Linked DNA regions of Homo sapiens: region 1 is linked to region 2. The links are contacts of gene promoters, found by promoter capture Hi-C in blood cells and fetal thymus (Javierre and others, 2016). All regions are on one chromosome and are shown on one strand. Each heading gives the region's core, a stretch centred on a gene start or on the middle of the fragment in contact. The rest is flanking DNA. Distances are from core to core; before and after follow the strand shown.

Region 1 (6,554 bases), core at 2,558-5,057, 3.9 Mb after region 2:
ATTGTATGTAATATACTTATTGCATACAATGTAGCAAAAGTATACCACCTGACAAAAGTATACCATGGTACGCTTATTGCATACCCTGTGGCAAAAGTATTATCTGCCCAAGTGCTACAACCTAAGCCACAAAATCTTCAGAAAACAAAAGGGAAATCCAAGGTGCTACACCTTCCAAGTCATCTAGTTTAATCCAATAACACGGCAGACTGTTAAATGAAATTATTCTATCCCATTATGAATTTTAAAAAACAAAACTAAAAATAGGAACCAGTAAAAGGGTTGCCGAGTTGTGAGACCTGGAATGATGGAGAGGAGGGCAGAAACTGCTGACTTCTTATTTGTTCTACATTAAAATTTTTTTTCCTTATTCAGTTCCCCATCCCTGGTGACAGGTGAAAAAGAGCTTTAAATAAAACCTTTTTTTGACCAATGAGGTATGTTTCTGGTGTCAAAATCCTTTCCAAGTCAGTTTTGTTTCATCTAGAGTTCTAATTTGTGTCAAGGACCCTGTTAATAGCAATTGCACATTTGCCAACAGCTACATCTCTTAATGATGCAAGTAAATTGTAATAATAGTTTTACTGGCCTTTGAAAGGTCATGAGACAGTAGAGGTAAAATGTTTGACCAGAAATCTGATATCACAAAATAAGTCACTGGTCAATCAATGGGGAAAAAGACAAGATTTTAAAATAAAGCAATGTAACCAATATGAAACGGTAAATAAAAGTCAAAACTTTGACTAGCTTGAAGGTTGTAAACCTATTCTGTGCATGCCTTATCAACTAAAAAATATTTCCTGTAATTGTTTACATTTCTACAAAGTTAGAAAATCATCAGCCTTCAGGGTATAAAATTATACTGGCACTCTATCCTTCATCTTCCATTTGCATTTTAACAAATAGCCTAAAACAGACCTGTTTTACATCAAAAAACCACCACCACGACAACAAAAGAGAATGCTTTGACAAAAAACCAAGTTACCATGACACTATAGACACAGCAGCCATGGTGAGACTCAAGCACTTGGCCACTTTCTTTTATATCCATCCAATTCACATGATTCACATAACTTAGTATTTTCTACCCCAGCAATATAACAAATAATACTTATCATCTTATCACTCCTATTACAGAATCCCATTTTAGGACAGCTTCACACAGCCCAGTATTCTTTGGCCTGTTAATAATCTCTCATCTGGTCTACAACTAATGCTATTGCATTCTGAGTATGGGCCTTTATATAAACTATAACACAAATTCAAATCAGTAAGGAACTTATCCAATAAAACTGTAATGACAACACCACCAACAAAAACTATTCCACTGCCTGGCAATTACAAAACTGTGTATTCTACAGCCCACGAGTTTTACTTCAAAGCTGGCTTATCCCAAACAGCATTACCTAGCAATAGACAAATATTTACCTATTAGAGATTTCTCCACTCAGAACGGGTACACTTAGGTAGTTTGACTTTTTAAGACTTATTGATTTTCCCTACATTTTAAAAGTTTTTTTATTAAGTGGTAATCTAGTTCAGAGGTCCAAGAGTTAATCCTAACTGAGATGCCACCCATTTTCTTGAGGCCTTGAAAACGTTATCCACAGTTTCAAAATGCCAGTACTGTAAAGGGCCTTGGAGGCTATCTGGTACTACCTCTGCAATTCACATACTGAATTAGGTGAAGCACTTTGAAAACTGACACTACTATACAAAAAGTATCATTTCCACCTATGAGGCCCAGAGAAGAACACACATAGGAAGTTAACCACACAGAACCAGGGCCTAGAACTGAGCTCTTCACTCTTAATCCCACACTCTGAACATGCCAAGTGAGCTATTTTAAATTGTTGTGGGAAGCTTCGATAAAACTGTATGCACATATTTATGCATACATGGCATTTGACAAATCCTACAAGCTAGACTTTGCAAAATTAGTACAACCCAAAGGGCACACCACTTTCCCCAAATAGTAACACTGTGCTTTCTTAGAACATTACTAGTCCCTATCTCACCTCTAGTTTCACTCCCTAATACAAACTCAACTACTCTAACCTCCTGTTCAAACCCTTTATTCTTTAAATGATGCAAGTGTATTCTATAAACAGTCATTTTCAAACACTTAGGAAAAAGAAAACAAATCTACACATCTAGACTCCCATCAGGTGAATGCAGGAGCCCTCTTCAGTAAACCCAACAAAGAAGCAGGATGTTTAATGTTGACAACAGATTCAGCACTTAAGCAAAGATGATTTACAATTTCATTTTGATGCCTCTACAAAATAACTTCGCTAAGATCACACGATACCAGAAGTTTCCAACAGGTTGTCTAGTCTTGCACAGAATTAAACTAAATCAGTTATGTGCAATTAATTCCAAAACCTTTTGGTGCACAGTGCCAACAATTAAGAGATTTCCAATATATTTTTCTGGACATACTGCTCATGGTAGCACCGGGCACTCTCCTTTTCCTAAAGTTGGTGGATGGTGGTATGGGATCAGAAACTGTTTTTAAAGTTGGTGGGGGGGGATGACAACAGGAAGATTCAAACTCTGGTTTTTCCCTTGGATTTGTATCTTTGCAGATATATTAATAAACATATCAAATATGGTATATTGTGGAGATACTGCTGCACAAGAGTCGCAGGCTTTTTTATTTCACACACTACCCAGTATACCAGCCCCTTGTCCTGACATTTCTCCTTAATAACGTACATATACAAGTCAAATTTTCTCCCTTTTCCTTCTTAGCACCAAAGACCTGTGCTTTTAAAACAAGCTCGTAGTGTCCAACGACCACGTTCCAGCAAGGAAAAGGCTCACGCTGAAGGACTTTCCGGAGTGCCCTAGGCCTCGCAGTCCTGCAGAGTAAAAGGGGGTGTGTCCGCGGTTGTTTCGGCCCTTTTCCCCCGGCAGCCCTCAGCGGCGCCCTGGGCCCCCTTTCTCGCGGCGGCCAGGGGAGCTGTTCGCAGGGCGTCCAGACCTCAGGCCACTGGCTCACTTTCTTGGAGTGGGTCCCAACCAGGGAACGAGGGCGGGGGCGGCGAGGGCACCAACGAATCCTCAAACCCCTCACTCTGAGGCCACTCGGCAGCCCCTCTTCGCCCTCCCCGCGGCGCCCCTGCCTCCTAAGTCCCTGCATGAACCACTGTCCCTCTCTCTCCCCCTCTCCCCGGCCCTGCCTCTCCCTCGCACACACGCCCAAAGGCAAAGGAGGCCCAGGGAGAAGCCAGAGGACCTGGGGGCCGCGAGAGAGGCAGGACCGGCATCTGCGGTGCCCTGGGAAGAGTCGTCCCGAGAGGTCCCCCCGAGGGGGCGCAGCCGCCACCAGAGCCCCGGCCGAGCCCGGGAGCGAAGCGGGGCCGAGCCAGGACCCACCAGCTGCTTCAGGTCCTCCTCCGAGAGCTCCGCGTAACGGTACCGCTGCTGCTCGAACTCGTACCGGGTGGTTTTGGCCACCACCACCACCCGGGAGGGGCGGAAGCCGCCGTCCGCGCGGCTGCCACAGCCCGCCAGCTCGCGCGGCTGCCCCTGCCCCAGGTGCCGCCGGCCGCCACCGTCACCGCCCAGCCGGGGCCGCGCGGCGGGGCCTCCCGCACCCGGTCCCCGCAGCGCCGCCGCCCGGCCGCCCGCCACGCGACAACAGCTGCCCAGCAAGAAGCCTCGGTAGCAAGTCATCGTGGGCCGGGCCGCGGCCGCGGGCTTGGGCTCGGGCCCCTTGCCTCAGCTCCCTACCGCCGGGAGTGCGCGCCGTCCGCGCCGCCCGGGCCTCTAACTTCGCGCCGGACGGGCAGAGGTTAAGTGCCAGGACGTGCGTGGCCCACGCGGCTAGGGGGACGTACCCAGGCGTTGACGAAGGCGGGGAAAGCGTGGCGATTGGGAAACGGGAGACCCCACGCGGGAGAAAGGTGGGCGGGGAAGAAATGGAGGCCCCAGCTAGTGGGTTTTGTTTGTTTGTTTATTCGTTTCACTCACGCCTGCATAATGGCTGCTTCGCCGCCCGGGGGCGACCTCCCCGCACCACACGCTTCCCCGAGGTCGCTCTTCTCCCGCCCCCAGGCTAACTCTATCGGCCAATCAGAGCCCGCGGCGGCTCCGGATCCGAGGGGCCGCGCCATTGGCTGCGGCCTGAGAAAGAGGTAGAATTCTGTTAGGCGATTGCGTCGCCCTGAGGAATCCAGCTGGATCCGGTCTGAGGCGGCGCGGGGCCAGCGGGTGGGGTTTTGAGCGGCTGGCGGGAAGGCAGGTTCCTGGCATATGCTCGCTTGGGTTCTGTTCTGCAGGCCGACCACGTGCCCATTGGTTTATTTGACCAGGGTCGGTGTGATAGCTGGTGTGTCTGGGGCCGGGCTGGGGGCTGAGGAGGCGGACCCGGCTCCTGCTGCACCGTGTGCGTGGCTTGGCACGAAATCCTCTCGGCGTGGGACCCAGTGCCCGCCCCGCTGCCCCCTGCCCCCCCGAAGAGCCCTACCTATAGGACAAAGTCCAAATGAATTAGTTCTTTGAAAGCTTTTAACTGGAAAGGAGTGAGTTAAAGCAATGTTTGATGACTATTGATCTGGCTTTGGAATCTTGGGTAGCTTGGGAGGCAAGAAGAGGAGGAAGGGATGCTGTTGGGATAATGACCCGTGGAGTGATCAGGACCTGGGCTGGGGTGTGACGAGAACAGAAGGAAACGTCCCATTGTAAGGGGAGAACCACATGGCAGTGCACATCCTGCTGTTCAATTCCGCAGCTCCTTAGATCCCCTTCCCCTGGCACTGTGTTTGCTCCTTTGTAGTCCTGGCGCTACGTCGCTTCTGGACTTTGGGCAGGTTACCTCATCTTTCTGGGCCTCAGATTCCTCATCTGTAAAAAGGGGGTTAGGGTGACCCCAAGGTTCTACCAAGTCCAAATCGATTCAGTGAATCTATGACTCTCCTCACGGGCCCACCAGCACCAGCGTTCATTCGTGGGTTCCCGCGGTGTGCCTGCTGTGTGCCAGGTAGTGTATTGGACTGGGAGCATACACAATGAAGCCCGATAGGTGTTTACTTGGTAAAGTTCTACCACTGACCCGTTCTCACCAAGAACTTTCCCTCACAGCAGCTGCTAATAGTGACGTGTAGTGTAACAACCTTAATAACCTGAGCTTCTAGAGGTAACATCTATAACTATCCTCAGACTCCTTTGTAGTCTTACTATTTTAAACTTCATTAGCATTAGGAAGGAAAAAAAAAAGGGAGAAATCACAGATGACGCTTAGGTTTGAGGCCAGGGTGAACAGGGGAATGTTAATTGATCCATTCGATAGAGAAAAAAAAATGCGTAGGGAGAAACTGTTTGGGATCAAAGTCTGAGTTTTGTTGCTCATATTTGAAATCTCGGACCTCATTTCTTCCCATTTCACAGATAAAAACCCAGATTTTTGACTCTCATTTCAGCTGCAAACATATACATTGACATCTCAGTTGGAATAGCCCTTTGTCCATAGTTATTTTGCGTCTCATCTTCCACCTCCTCAAAAATAGTGTTTCTGAAGGCATCCTCTCACAGGTATCTTGAATTTTCCCTCCCAAATGAGTTTGCCTCTTCAGTATTTAAATATGCTCATGTCTATGACATCTTTAAAATTTTTCTAAAAAAACAAAACAACCTCTAAGCCTTTGTTTTTACATATTGCCTGCCTTACCTTTACAGCTGATTCTCGAAAGAGTAGTCTGTTCATCATTGCCACATCCCTGCCTCCTAGTCATTCCTCAACCTGTTGTACACTAGCTTCTCCCCACTACTTTGCTAATTACTGCTGTTTCCAAGGTGACCAAAAGATCTTGTTGGAACTCAAAAGACTTTTTTCAGTTCTTTAATTGATTGATCTTTCCAAAGAATTTGAAATGGTTATCATTTCTTCTTGAAATCTTTTACTGTCTCCCAACATACCAGTCCCTAACAGTGTTTCTCCCATCTCTATGTCCCTTTTTGACTTCTTCCTAAACCCATCTCCAAGATGTCTTCTGTCCTCGTCTCCTTGTCTCTTCTTCTCCGTCTTTTTTCCTTCTCTCTCTCTCTCTCTGTCACACACACACGCTCCTGAGTTCATTCAGTGTTGTGTAATGGAAGGATCTTGGTTCAAATCTCAGTTTTATTGTTTATTAGCTTTGTGAAACTTGAACTGGTTGTTTAACCTTCCTGAGACTACTTCTGCATTTATAAAATATAATTGCTACCTTGTAAAATTGTGAATATATGCACAGATGCTTAGCACTGTGCCCATTACACAGTAGACACTTGGCAAATATTAGCCCCTTTCATGACCTCAGCTATTACTGGCATCTTTAGCCCAGATCTTTCTCTTGAATTTCCAATCCTTATCTAGTTTCCTTTTAGATAATGTCTCTTAAATCTTACACATGTAACACACATTCGTGGAGATTAAATTAAATTTGAGTGTCACTGTAGGCCAGGCATCCTGCTAGGTGCTACAGATGAAATGATAAAAAGCTTCCATGCCCTTGAGGAGCCTAAAGTCTATGCAGTGATAGAGTTATACACAGAATGCTGAGAAATTTGGA
Region 2 (7,091 bases), core at 3,579-6,078:
CAGGAGTTCGAGACCAGCCTGGCCAATATGGTGAAACCCCATCTCTACTAAAAATACAAACATTAGCTGGGTGTGGTGGTGCACGCCTGTAGTCCCAGCTACTCAGGAGGCTGAGGCAGGAGAATCGCCTGAACCTGGGAGGCGGAGGTTGCAGTGAGCCAAGTTCATGCCACTGCACTCCAGCCTGGGTGACAGAACGAGGCTCCATCTCAAAAAAAAAAAGAAAGAAGCAACAGCATGACATACACCAAGGCAGTTCAGAGAAAGGCAACATGAGGGAAAGCAGTGTAGGAAATAGGAGAGAACAGTTCAGAAGAGTGTCCTGAGGAACTCCTCCCACTGGGTAAGCCAAGAGAAGGTTACCAGACCCAGGGCTCTCAGAAGCACATAAGCCATGCCTCGATGTTGCTCACCTGCATTTCCCGTAATATGATTACCTGGCAAAACCTATATACTTAAAAATACATTGCCTTCTCACCCCTTCCTACCTTTATCTTCTTTTTTTTTTTGAGATGGAGTCTCACTCTGTCGCCAGGCTGAAATGCAGTGGCGTGATCTTGGCTCACTGCAACCTCTGCCTCCTGGGTTCAAGGGATTCTCCTGCCTGAGCCTCCCGAGTAACTGGGACTAACTACAGGCACACACCACCACGCCCAGGTAATTTTTGTATTTTTAGTAGAGACGGGGTTTCACCATGTTGGCCAGGATAGTCTGGATCTCTTGGCCTCATGATCCACCCACCTCGGCCTCCCAAAGTGCTGGGATTACAGGCGTGAGCCACCACGCCCGGCCTTACCCTTATCTTTTAAAAAACCATCCACAATTTAGGACAGAGCCTTATCCTCTGTTACAAAACATGTTTAGAGTCAGACTACAACAACGAGGCATAGTGTCTGCACAGCATTATTTTAATGCAAGAAAACAAAGCTGCCAACTATAAGGATCTGAAAAATGTGACCACTTCAGGCTTATTTTAGACTGAACCACTCCCCTTCCCTAATTATCCCTCAAAGGAAATACATCAGGCACTGTGGGCAAAGAGGGAAACATGTCTAATTACAACATGTGCACTTGGTGGACGAAGAATTTGAACATTCTTGAACTCTGGCCACATTTCAGAAGACTTTCCACTTGTAGTTTAATTTCCCTGAAGAGAAAAGTTTAAAGATCAGTTGCACTTCAACCAGGGTTCTATCAAAAAAAGACATAAAGAATACCCGACAAGCATAGGCAACCAAAGCAAAAATGGACAAATGGGATCACATCAAGTTAAAAAGCTTCCTCACAGCAAAGGAAACTATCAACAAAATGAAGAGATAACCCACTGAATGAGAGAAAATATTTACAAACCATCTATCTGACAGGGGATAACAAGAATATGTAAGAAGCTCAAACAACTCAATAGGAAAAAATCTAATAATCCACCTAAAAATGGAGACAAGATCTGAAAGACATTTCTCAAAAGAAGATATACAAATGGCAAAAAAAGGTACATGAAAACGTGCTTAACATCATTGATCACCAGAGAAATACAAATCAAAACTACAATGAGTGCTCGCTTCAGCATCACATATACTAAAATTGGAAGGACACAGAGAAGATTAGCATGGCCCCTGCGCAAGGATGACATGCAAATTCGTGAAGCGTTTCATATTTTTAACAAACCCTTAAATGTTAAAAAAAAAAAGTATGAGATATCATCTCATCCCAGTTAAAATGGCTTATATCCAAAAAAGATAAGCAATAACAAATGCTAGTAAGGATGTGGAGAGAAGGGAACCTTCATACGCTGTTGGTGGGAACGTAAATCAATACAACCACTGTGGAGAACAGTACGGAGGTTCCTCAAAAACTAAAAATAGAGCCACCATATGATCCGGCAAGCCCACTGCTAGGTATACACCCAAAAGAAAGGAAATCAGGGCCAGGCACGGTGGCTTACGCCTACAATCCCAGCACTTTGGGAGGCTGAGGCAGGAGGATTGCTTGAGCCCAGGAGTTTGAGAGCAGCCTGGGCAAAGACAGCAAGACATCACCTCTACTAAAAATTTTAAAATTAGCCAGGTGCTCTGGCATGCACCTGTAGTCCCAGCTACTTGGGAAAATGGCTTGAGTACAGGAGGTGGAGGCTACAGTGAGCTGTGATCACGCCACTGTACTTCAACCTAAGCGACAAAGCAAGATCCTGTCTCTAAAAAAGGAAGAAAGGAAATCAGTACATGGAAGAGAAATCTGCACTCCCATGTTTATTACAACACTATTCACCACAGCCAAGATTTGGAAGCAACCAAAGTGTCCATCATCAACAAATGAATAGATAAAGAAAATGTGGTACATACACACGAGTACTATTCAGCCATAAAAAAGAATAAGATCCTGTCATTTGTAACAATGAACAGAACTGGAGGTCATTATGTTAAGTGAACTACGCCAGGCGCAGAAAGACAAACTTTGCACGTCCTCACTTATTTGTGGGAGCTAAAAATTAAAACATTTGAACTCATGGAGACAGAATGATGGTTACCAAAAGCTGGGAAGGGTAGCAGGGGAAAGGGAAGTGGGGATGTTTAATGGGTACAAAAACACAGTTAGAATAAGATCTAGTAAGTGATAGCACAACAGGGTGACTACAGTCAACAATAATTGTATATTTTATAATAACTTAAAGAGTATAATTGGATAGTGTGTAACACAAAGGAAGGATAAATGCTTGCAGTGATGGATACCCCATTCATGCATTGTATGCCTGTATCCAAAGATTTCTTTCTTTTTTTTTTTTTTGAGATGGAGTCTCGCTCTGTCGCCCAAGCTGTAGTGCAGTGGCGCGATCTCGGCTCACTGCAACCTCTGCCTCCTGGGTTCAAGCGATTCTCCTGCCTCAGCCTCCCAAGTAGCTGGGATTACAGGTGCGCACCACCATGCCTGGCTAATTTTAGGGTTTCACCATGTTGGCCAGGCTGGTCTCCAACTTCTGACCTCAGGTGATCCACCCACCTCAGCCGGCCCAAAGTGCTGGGATTACAGGTGTCAGCCACCATGCCCAGCCCAAATATTTCATGTATCCCATTAAATATATACACCTACTATACCCACAAAAATTTTTTAAATGTTTAAATGTTTTAAAAAGACACAAAGAGAAATTGACCACATTGCTTAAATGTGATACCACAAGGGAAGCCCGCTGAAACTTTAAGATGACCCTGACTCCACATCAAGTGCTAACAGAGGAAATGGTTTGTATTTTACAACTAGGACTAAAAATAAGACCCATTTTAAGAGCACTTTCCCCTGGAGAAAACACACATATCTTGAATTTAAAGATACATATGCAAATGCCTCAGGCCCCAGGTGGTCTTTACGGAAGCAGTCCCTGATCAGATCTCTCATCCACAGCCCACGTGCTTCTGCATTACAGAGGTGGGAAGACATCTGCAACAAATTTGGCGGTGCTTCTGCACTTCTGCTGGAGAGAAGGGCAGAAAAAAACCTTTACAGATGCAAAACAAGAAGGCTTCTCATTAGGCATTTGGATTAAGAACTATTGCTCAAGAAGCCCTGAGCAAGGCCTACAAGTTCTGATCTCTCTAACCTCCTCTCCTATGACTGTCCCCCTTGTCCATGGGCCTCTGCCATGCTGGCTTCCTTGACGCTCCGCCAACCCTTCAGACACACTCCCACCTCACGACCTTCCCGGGGGCTGTTCCCTCTACCTGGACGACTCTTCTCTCAGACCTCTCGTATCTTCAAGTCTCGGCTCAAATGCCACCTTTGCGAGGAGGAAAAAGATTTCTTTTCTTTCCCATGATATTTATCACCTCCTACTACACCGTATAATTTACTTAATTATCTATAATTCACCCCGTTTCTCCTTTCCCCCTCAAATAAGCTCCAGGAATGCAGAGATCTCTGTCCTGTTCACTGATGTCTATCACAAGCACTTAGTGCCTGACACACAGTAGGAGCTCGAGAAGTATTTTCTGAATGAATGAACAAATTTCTTGACCTGAAGATTCAGAAGAGTAAGAAGTGGGTGGAAAGGATGATGGTGAGGGGATGAGGAGAAAGAAGCGACAGCGGAGAATTCCCAAGGGAGAGACAAGCAGAGACTGGCTGAGGCCAGGCCGACCCCCTTTTCTCCCCGCAGCGCTGACGGGAGGCGGACGTAGGTGCAGGGCATCCCGCCAGCCGCACCCGAGGCACTCAGACGCAGGCAGCGGAGGCCGGCGGGCTTCTGGGCTCACTGAGAAAGTCCAGAGGCAGGACGGACCCACGCGGGCTCCGAGCAGGCCCCGTTGGGGGCTCCGACCCACGGCCCTACCCCTCCCAGCAGTGCCCACAACCCCAGGTCCTCTCCAGAATCCCCAGGGGCGTTCCGGGCCGCAATCCCTTCTCGGCTCGGGCCCCTCCACCAGCCTCCAGCGCTCGGGCCCTGCGCTCAGGCACCTGCCTGCCTGCGCCGGGGTCCCCATTCCGGCCCGCGCGGAGGCCCCAGCGCGCTCCTGCGGCCTCAGCCCGCCTGGCTGCCCCGTCGCCCGGCACAAGGGCAGGAAGCGCTCCGCGGCGCTCCCCGCTGCAAGGAAGGGGCTCCCGGCGCCCCTCGCCCCGGCCGCCCCTGCCCGACGCCCCGCCTGCGCGGCGCCCCCTCACCTCAGGGCGTACGTACGACACGAAGGAGGGCTTGGGGGCCTTGGTGCCGCCGCCACCGCCGACTACTCCTTTCCCCAGCATACCGCCGCCCTGGGAAGCAGCGACGCGCGGACGCAGAGGCGGCGGCTCGGGCTCCAGCTGGGGCAGCAGCGGCGGCCACCAGCACTAGCGGCTGGGGCTCCGCCCATCCCCAAGGCCGCGACCGCCGCGATGCCGCCCGCATCCGGCTCCGCCGCTGACACCGCTCGCCCCGCCCAGGCCCGTGGGCCCCGCCCATCCCGTGCGCGGGCCCAGAGAGCCGGGAGACCGCAACTGGAGGCCACGCCCCCCCATCACGTCAGGAGAGTTTGACCCGCCGAGATTCACCACCTTCCTGCGGCAGAGCCCGCCCTCATGCTTTCTCTGATTGGCCCGAGGCGCTGCCGGCCGAACCCCGCTCCCAACCCATTCTTGAGTGCACTTGGAGAGATGTTTCCTCCAACCAATCCAGAGAGCGTTCTCTCCGGACTTTCCAACGATTGGATGGCGAGGATAAAACCGTCGTCCAATGATCCTGCAGTCACCAAGTTGTCGTTAGCAGGGGTTCACGGCAGTCGTTTTCTTCCGTTTGCTTGTGTCTTTGGAATAAAACGTCCAAAAATGGGATGTATGGAATCTTGCTATAGGAGTTCCCAACTTACAGCGATGACGTTCAAGGTTTTTTATTTTATTATTATTTACTTTTGAGACGGAGTTTTGCTCTTGTCGCCCAGGCTGGAGTGCAATGGCGCGATCTCTGCTCATTGCAACCTCCGTCTCCCAGGTTCAAGCGATTCTCTTGCCTCAGCCTCCTGAGTAGCTGGGATTACAGGCGCCCGCCACTATATCCAGCTAATTTTGTGTGTGTGTGTGTGTGTGTGTGTGTGTGTCGTTCTGTCGCCCAGGCTTGAGTGCAATGGCGTAGTATAGGCTCACTGCAACCTCTGCCTCCCAGGTTCAAGCGATTCTCCTGCCTCAGCCTCCCGAGTAGCTGGGATTATAGGCGCCTGCCATCACACCCGGCTAATTTTTGTATTTTTAGTAGAGACGGGGTTTCACCATGTTGGCCAGGCTAGTCTCAAACCCCTAACCTCGTGATCCGCCCGCCTCAGCCTCCCAAAGTGTTGGGATTAGAGGCATGAGCCACCGCGCCATGCCGCTAATTTTTGTATTTTTAATGGAGACGGGGGTTTCACCATGTTGGCCAGGCTGGTCTCAAACTCCTGACTTCAGATGATCCACCCGCTTCGGCCTCCCGAAGTGCTGGGATTACAGGCGTGAGCCACCGCGCCCGACCTCAAGGTTTATTATTTTAAATGTAAACAAAAATGAGACAAACGATGACTCACGCCTCTAATCCCAGCACTTTGGGAGGCCGAGGCGGGTGGATCATCTGAAGTCAGGAGTTTGAGACCAGCCTGGCCAACATGGAGAAACCCTATCTCTACTAAAAATACAAAAATTAGCCTGGTGTGGTGGCGGGCGCCTGTAATCCCAGCTACTCGGGAGGCTGAGGCACGAGAATCGCTTGAACCAAGGTTGCAGTGAGCCAGGATCGCGCCACTGCACTCCAGCCTGGGTGGCAGAGCAAGACTGTGTCTCAAACAGAAAAAAAAAAGTGTCAAATCAAGTGTTAACAAGGCAGTGAGGAATAAGTTTGAGCGTTTGATAATAAAAGACTTTGTCAACTTCATTTTTCCAAACCTTTCCCTTCTTTGTGTTTCCAACAGGAAGAATATCAAGAGCCCTTAAGAGACTTCTATTTACTCTACGAAGTTATTGATAAAACCCTCATTTTTTAGTCAAGATTGCAAAGAAAATTCATTTCAGTTCTACATTTGGTGCCAAGCGTTGTTAGTTGCAGATAAATAAGATAGAATCCAGCTCTTAAGAAATTCAATCTAGTGGAAAAAAACATAAATATTTGCAGTTAATTTTTTAGGCGTCAGGCACTGTGCTAAGTACTCTCATTGGTGACCTTGATTTTTACCCTCTTAATCTCCATGTGCTCCCCCTTCCCAAATACACTCCAAGTAAATATAAAATCTTAGTGAAAACAAATGTGCTTGCTTTTGCAAACATAGTTTCAACGCAAGTCCTGCAGCTCCGTTTCCAGCTAGATTGCCACCTGTAAGCCAATATTTGGTATAGCTGTGCTGCAGCCGCCTCTGAGTTTCCTTATCCCAGTTTCCAGGTGACAAAACAGAGATGCAAGTAATTTGCCCAGGTCTCACAACTAGTCACTGAGAGAGCTGGGATTTCAACCCGGGTTTGTCTCATTCGAAATCCCAAGTTCTTAACATTATAATTATACAAATTAGAAAGGAGCACAATGAAAGTGTGGTCAATTCTATTTGGGGAGTCCAAGTTGAGGCCATCCTTACAAGGTTGAGAAGAATTCTGCACAAAAATAGAGTTATAACTAA

Evidence for each region. Contacts are between HindIII fragments. The CHiCAGO score rates a contact against its expected background, and 5 or more counts as called.
Region 1: a contact is called between the fragment with the promoter of NADK2 here and the fragment with the promoter of MTMR12 in region 2, in 1 of 17 cell types (fetal thymus). The highest score is 6.2, in fetal thymus.

What each region holds. Positions count from the first base shown.
Region 1 is chr5:36,238,118-36,244,671 of GRCh38, forward strand. It overlaps NADK2 (NAD kinase 2, mitochondrial), which reads right to left and starts at 3,808. Exons shown (of 12, transcript NM_001085411.3): 1 at 3,382-3,808. The coding sequence starts at 3,681. It overlaps LOC124900962 (a long non-coding RNA gene), which reads left to right and starts at 3,785. Exons shown (of 3, transcript XR_007058733.1): 1 at 3,785-3,911. RefSeq lists enhancers at 2,713-2,782, 4,133-4,332 and a silencer at 2,873-3,892. The HindIII fragment of the contact is 2,649 bases long and covers 1,862-4,510 here.
Region 2 is chr5:32,308,111-32,315,201 of GRCh38, forward strand. It overlaps MTMR12 (myotubularin related protein 12), which reads right to left and starts at 4,829. Exons shown (of 16, transcript NM_001040446.3): 1 at 4,648-4,829. The coding sequence starts at 4,728. It also overlaps the pseudogene RNU6-378P. RefSeq lists silencers at 1,872-2,032, 4,158-4,297, 4,368-5,157 and an enhancer at 5,248-5,297. The HindIII fragment of the contact is 10,159 bases long and covers 1,276-7,091 here.